2 separate regions of the Homo sapiens genome follow, and region 2 is linked to region 1. The links are contacts of gene promoters, found by promoter capture Hi-C in blood cells and fetal thymus (Javierre and others, 2016). All regions are on one chromosome and are shown on one strand. The core of a region is centred on a gene start or on the middle of the fragment in contact, and the rest is flanking DNA. Distances in the headings are between cores, read along the strand shown.

Region 1 (3,470 bases), core at 536-3,035:
GTATCTGAGGCTGTCCAAGGTGCGGAGTGTCGGAGTCACGTGAGCTGCATCTCCAACCTTGGCTTCCTCATTTGCAAAATGAAGAGGCCCCAGTGAGCTCGGAGATCCCTTCACAGAATCATCGCTAGAATTCCGTGAGGCTTTGTTGAGGCCCAGCAGGCCTGTCTCAGTGGCAAGGGAGGCAGGTGGCTCCTGGAACGCAGGCAGCACTGGGCGGGTACCCGCACTGGGCATCCCATGTGCCCCACATCTCTGGCACATTAGCCCATGGCTCAGGTGGCACTGGCCCCGTGGCATAGGCGAGAGGGCAGGCTAGGGACTGCTCCTACCAGTGTGTCTTGGGCTCTGTGCCCACTACCTGGTGGGGAGAGGTGTCCACTTTGTCCACTTCATGGCATGGGAGCCGATGCGGCTTCAATCCTGACTCCGCAGCTGCCTCCTGACCAGTCAGCAATCGGGAGCCCCGACCTCTTCCCTCTCCATCCTCACTGCAGCCTGGGCAGGCCGGAGGCCAATGTCCCCAGGGCAGAGCTGGGACAGTCCCAGTGGGAAGGAGGCCTGGCCGGGCCAGACAGCAGCCTGGGAAGGAGCCGTGTGTTGCCTGGGAGTTCCACGGCACCGGCTGAACCTGCATCTTGAAGGTTTGATTGATTGCGTCGTTCAGAGTGAATATATTTTTTAATAATCGGTTTCCAAAATTAGTCTTTCTCTGTGTAGCAGCTATCACAAACAGCATGAGACGCACTCCTTTTATTTTTTTTTTACCTGCCAGAGGCAGATATTTGTTTTTCCTTCAAGAGAGCAGCAGGTGAAGGTGTGGTCCCCGGATCCCAGCACCTGGAAGCTGCGGTCTGGTCCTGCCTGCTTGGAGCCTGTGGGCCGAGAAAGACAGGGGCAGAGGCAGCCTGACCAAACCTCCTCTTGCTCCCACTCTCCGTGGCTTGCGGGCCAAGCGACATCAGCTCTGCACCCCTCGGTTTCCTTAGCCGATGGCGATGGTTTGATTACTTCATCACACTGTTTTGGGATTAAGACAGGACAAGCTTAGTGCACACATTATAGCTGCTCAGTGCCCATTCAGTAACTGGTAGCTTGGTCCTCCTACCTCGTGCCCTTGCGGTAGCTCTGGGAAGCCAACTCTGTCTCCATTTGACTGGTCCTACAGGTGCGGGTTTTAAACCCTACGTCACCCACATCTCCTTTTGGACATCACAAAACTCCTGAGGTGCCCAGCCCACTTACCCCCAAGTGCTCACCTTCTGTGAGCTCCTGAGCTTCTTCACCAGCTGAGATTTTTCCTTGTGGAGTTTTCTACTTCTGTTGTTTGTAATTCAAACTAATAAGTTCTTCCTGCATTTGAAAAATGAAAACATGGTGTAATATTGAATGTTGCTGTTCAAACTGCTCCCCACACCCAGCATTTTGCAATGTCCCCCAGGGGCACACACCCTTGATGCTTGACTGAAAAACTACCATACCAGTGACTGTCTGTATCTCATTGGCCTGAGAAATTAAAAGCTGCTACTGTGTTACATTAAGTGTCTGCTGTACGCACCGCCCTGGGCTGGGCCAGTCCTGGGGGATAAAGAACAGTATCAGAAAGATACTCAGACAGAGCTGTCTCTGTGGTGGAGGAGATGAGAGCTAAGAGAAGTGAAAATGCAGAGCCGAGGCCAGGCCATCCCGCAGTGTCCACTGGTGCAGGGGTGGGCTGCGGGTCGCGAGCCACGGGAGCTTGCAAAAGGGAAGGGCATGGCTTGAAGTCAGCTTCCCGGAAGAGGAAGAGGCGGTCCTTGGCTGATGGCAGAATTTGCATGGGCTGATAGGAAGGGACGGCTTCAAGGTTGAGTTGGCTAACAACTCGAGCCAAGGCCCAGAGGTGGGGATGAGTTTGCTGCCAAAGGGGACGGCTGGCAGGAAGCTACTCAGTGTGCTTGTTCGTCTCGCTCATTAATTGGGCACAAAGAGCAGCAAATCCCATCCCCATCCCGAGGCCCTGCAGCATGGTAGGATCATGCCCACTTCTCCCTGCTCTTAGACCAACGTGGGTTCTGCCTCCCCTGCCCAAAGCGTAGGCGCAGACTCTGGGTGGAATCAAGGTGCAAAGGAGGCCTCGATTCCGGCGGTTTCAGAGGGCTGCTCCCTGCGTAAGTCATCCACCCATCCTCTTGTTACCCCACCTCTGGCTTCTGGGGGCCCCAGGACTTCCCCAGCGCTGTCCTCAGCCCTGAAACCTCCATGGGGTTTCCATGGAGAAGTGCTGACAATTTTGTTTCTACTCTCCCAGTTCTTCCTGAAATTCATCTGCATCAAAGTGAGATCCCTTATGCTCAGCGCTCAGCAAGGCTGTGGTGATTAAGCACTTAAATTGATTAATCAAATTTCCTGTGATGAGAACTACTGTCATTCATTAATCTGAGCGGGATTATAAATAAGAGATGGCAGATACAGGAGACAACCGTGTTGACAGATGGACACGGTGGCCTGAATCACAAGTAGGTGCCTGCTTCCTGGGGGCTTTCGCTGTGGGCAGCTGGGGACGGAGCTTCCCTAAAGACAAAATTATTCGGAGATTGAAGTATCCCCATTTTAATAACGAAATATGCATAGATGAGCAGGCAGCCGGTACAGGGAGCACGTAGGTTCGCATACCAATGGCCCGGTTGTATTCATGGAGGTGGTAGCAGCAGCTCCAAGAGATAAAGAATCTGCTAGAAAAAGAGGCCAAAGCAAAGTGGCACACGGGTTGAGAATATGGGTTTGAGGGTCAGAGCAGCCCTGGGTGCAAATCCTGCCTCCATGGTTTACTCAACGCGTGACTTGGCTGAGGTTCTCAATCTCCCAGAGCCTCCATTCCCTCACTGGCAAAATGCGGATGCTGATAATCCTGATTCCACTGGGTTGTTGTTAAGAGTAAATGAGACAATATCTATGAGGCACTTTTTATCTAGTTTACAAACATTTATTGAGCACCTACTGTATGTCAGTACTGTGCTGGTATTTAGAGATTGGCAAGGAATAAAGCAAGCATGGTCCCTGCCCCCAGAGCTGGTGTTCTTATGGAGAAGGCAGACACTGAGACTCAAGGGCTATGACACAGTGCTACTGCCCTGGCCTTCCCAGATGCCACATTCTCTGTTGACCTCCTGGACTCAGGATGTCCTTTCCATCCCTGTCTTTGAACACTTCTTCCTGCCTGTGGTCTCTCCTTGCCCCTGCGCAGATCCTCCTCCTGACTTCTTGGCCTCATTCACTCCAACAGAACTGTCCCTCCCAGCTCAAGTATACTGTGTCTCTACCCAAGTCAAAGCCCTGGATGACGGCTGCAAAGCATAAGGCTTCGGGTTCCCAGCTCAGTCACACATAAGCTTCATACCCTAGACGTGTATGATGATCTGCATGAAGTCCATTTCCCCACTTTCGTGGGGTACAGTCCCCTTGAGGCAGGGACCAGGTCTGTTCTGGTCCCC
Region 2 (3,540 bases), core at 621-3,120, 3.3 Mb before region 1:
TATTCAGAGGAAGACTTGTGGGAGAGGAAGGCCTCCATTTTCTTGTTCATTTGTTTACTCATGTGGCATCCACCAGGGTCTTGGCCCTAGACTGGGCCCCATGAAGACCCCAGGCTGTCCCCTCTCTTGTGGTGATGTCAGGCTGGTCGGAGCAGAGGCAGCACCTTTGGTGTGGGGTGAGTCACAACGCCTTGCCCTGTGCCTCCTGCTGTCATTCATGTCTTAGGACAAGCCAAAGGCTCAGGTGGCTGCAGGTGTTCTGGGGACAAAGAGCACTGTAGTCTGGAAAGCTTGGGAGCTTTGCTAGGGGCAGGAGCCTGAGCTGGGCTTTTGGAATGGTTAGAAGCTTACATGGAGGTGGGGAAGGGTTTCTACCCAGCTGCACCGTGAGGAAGGTGAAGCAGGTGTGGTGTTCTGGAAGGAGGGTGTGGGAACACATGAGCCAGCATGGACAGGGGTGTGCGGGGGAGGTCAGCTGGGTGACACTGTGGATGGCCTGAACTCCAGGCTCAGGAATTTGGACCCCTACGTTCTAGTCTCAGAAACCCTTTGTACTTTTAAAAGTTACTGAGGTTCCCACAGAGCTTTGGTGGGTGTGGATTATCTCTATTGATAATTTCTTCTTTACTGACAAAAACTGAGAAACTTACAACTCATGTACTTATTAATTCATTAAAAATAACAATGATAGGCTGGGCGCAGTGGCTCATGCCTGTAATCCCAGCACTTTGGGAGGCCAAGGTGGGCAGATCATGAGGTCAGGAGTTCAAGACCAGCCAGGCCAACATGGTAAAAACCCATCTCTACTAAAAATACAAAAATTAGCTGGGCGTGGTGGCACATGCCTGTAATCCCAGCTACTCGGGAGGCTGAGGCAGGAGAATTGCTTGAAACCGGGAGGTGGAGGTTGCAGTGAGCCAAGATCGCGCCACTGCACTCCAGCCTGGCGACAGAGCGAGACTCTGTCTCAAAAACAAAACAAAACAAAACAAAAAGATGATAATAATAAGCTAATTACAGGTTTACATAAATAACAGATTTCAATAAAAATAATTATAGACCACCCCCCCCCCCCACCACCACCAAATAGTGAGAAGTGAGGCTTTGTTTTACCTTTCAGCAAATCTCTGTAATGTTTGGTTGGAGAGAAGGCAGCTGGATTTGCAAAACTCCTTCTGTATTCAATCTGTTGCAGTATGTTGTTTTGTTTAAAATACATGAAGAAAATATGGCCTCACACAGGTATGTAGTTGGGGAACAGAGGGGTATTTTAAAAGCTTTGTTAGATAATTGCAGATACTGTTCTTTATGCTAAACTGGAAGTCAATAAGCAGGAGTTTTCTAAAGGTTAGTTGCAGTGGGAAATTGGAAAGCCCTGTCAGTAATTTTTCCTTTTTCATTCAAAGAATAGATTTTTAACCCACGTGTAATTTTGAAACATCACACCACGGTCATCTGGAAAATACCGTTCCACTGCGTTTTGCAGATCTTCCAAATGCTAACACATTTCTTCATTCAATATCAAGCATCACATTCAATAATATCAGCACGTTCTTCATCGCAAAAGCCTTTAAGTGCTGGGAAGCTGTCGAGCTCCCGGCGGTGGATACGAGTCTTCCAAAATTCTAATTTCTCCTTGAAAGTCAGAACTCTATTATTGGCAACAAATATTGTCAGTTGTTTTCCTTGAAGTGACAGGCTCACTTTATATATTTTGAGAAAATGTCTGCCAAATACCCATGTCTGAATAACCATAGTTTGTCTCTTAGTTATTCTCTCAAGGAAAAACGGTATTTCATAAAAAGCAGCCAGTTCAGCTCACAGTTGTTTCACAGGGCTCAAGGGTTTTCTCCGAGACAAACATTCTACTTTGGTTTGCACCAGGAGTGTTTTATACATAGTTCCCATTTAATCACACAGAAGATTAAAAAGATTTACATTAAAAAGATGTAAACTCAGGGTTGAGATTTAATAAAAATAATAATTTTTAGTGCTCCCTTGAGGCCAGTGCTGTTGTGGGCTAAGCCTGCCTCACACACGGCATGGCACGTTTATTGCTCACAGTACACACACATGACAGGCTGGCAGGGTCTCTGCTCCACAGGCCACTCAGGGATCCAGGCCGGTGGCAGCTCTTCCAGCTATGGCTTCACTACCTGGGACTAGTGGGCTTCTTGGCTGTTGATATGGTTTGGATATCTGTCCCTGTCCAGATCTCATGTGGAAATGTCATCCTGAGAACTGAAGGTGGCGCCTGGTGGGGGGTGACTGGACCATGGGGGTGGGGCTTTCTCGTGAAGGGTTTAGCACCATCCTCTTGGTGCTGTCCTCATGATAGTGAGTGAGTTCCCGTGACATCTGGTCATTGGAAAGTGTGTGGCGCCTCCCCCAACTCTCTCTCTCTCTTGTTCCTGCTTTCACCACGTGACATGCCTGCTCCCCCTTTGCCTTCCACTGTGACTGGAAGCTTCCAGAGGCCTCCCCAGAAGCTGATGCCGGGGCTATGCTTCCCATACAGCTTGCCGAACCATGACCCAATTAAACCTCCTTTCTTATAAATTACCCAGTCGAAGACATTTCTCTATAGCAATGCAAGAACAGCCTAATGCAGTTGTTCCCTGGGGAAGACAGTGCTGAAGGGCTTTGCATACAGGAGTGAGACATCCCTGCCAGAAGCGGTACGCTTCACGCCAGCTCACAGCCCGTTGGCCAGAACGCGCCACTTGGTCCACCTAATTGTGAGGGCGGCCGGGGCTCCTGGAGGGAGAAGTGCTGGGTGTGAGAGAGCACACTCGTCTCCCCACCCATCCCCCTGAGTTGCTGGCCTCCCGTCCACCAACCTCCTAGTCCTCTCCTCGGGGAAGCCTGCTGCGCGCCATCCCTCCCCATGCTGGCTCGTCTCTCTCTGAGTCATGCTGACTCTAACCGGCCTTTCACCGTTTGTCTCTACTGTTCATCTTTGGGTGGAGTGCGGCTCACTGTGAAGCTTCTCTGCACTCGCTGGATGAACGAAGGAATGAACAGGGAGATTTAGGTTCTTGGTAGCTGGAACCTCCTGTTTCTAGATCCTGCCTTGTTTCTCCCATGCAGCCCTTCAGTGTGGGTTTTCGTAGTGGCCTGGACGTCTTCTCTAGGGAGGGCCCACCGATTGCCGTGGCTCGAGGCCCCCGGAGACCAAAGACCGGGCGTGGAGCAAGAAAAACAGACGATGGAAACCTGCACCTCGTCCCCAGCCCTGCCACTGACAGCGTGTGGCTGTGGAGGCCTCTGTTTGCCCTCTCTGTGAGGGAGGAGCCCGCTGGAAGGCCTCCTGAGCCCGTCTGGTCCCTGCCATGCCATGGGTCTGCCTGGTGAGCCTGCAACGGGGATTTAGTTTTCTGTGTCGGGGGTGAGTTTCCATCAAAATAGCCACATTCTCTCACCAAGACTCCCTCATGGCCCTCGGCTCTGGGAGCCACCTTTGTCTGCGCACTGCCTCCCTCTCTCTTTGTCTCTGTTTCTCTCTCTCTCTCTCTCTGTCTGGCTCTGTCTCTTTCTTGC

The links. The method cuts DNA at HindIII sites, captures the fragments that hold promoters and counts their contacts. A CHiCAGO score of 5 or more calls a contact.
Region 2: a contact is called between a fragment that was not itself captured here and the fragment with the promoter of CAMTA1-AS1 in region 1, in 1 of 17 cell types (total CD8 T cells). The highest score is 5.2, in total CD8 T cells.

What each region holds. Positions count from the first base shown.
Region 1 is chr1:7,439,832-7,443,301 of GRCh38, forward strand. It overlaps CAMTA1-AS1 (CAMTA1 antisense RNA 1), which reads right to left and starts at 1,786. Exons shown (of 2, transcript NR_187278.1): 1 at 1,257-1,786; 2 at 736-1,017. The region is part of intron 5 of CAMTA1 (calmodulin binding transcription activator 1); the gene reads left to right. The HindIII fragment of the contact is 2,325 bases long and covers 1,042-3,366 here.
Region 2 is chr1:4,124,779-4,128,318 of GRCh38, forward strand. No RefSeq gene overlaps it. Among named protein-coding and RNA genes, the nearest start is that of LINC02780, 150 kb to the left of the region's middle. The HindIII fragment of the contact is 1,190 bases long and covers 1,276-2,465 here.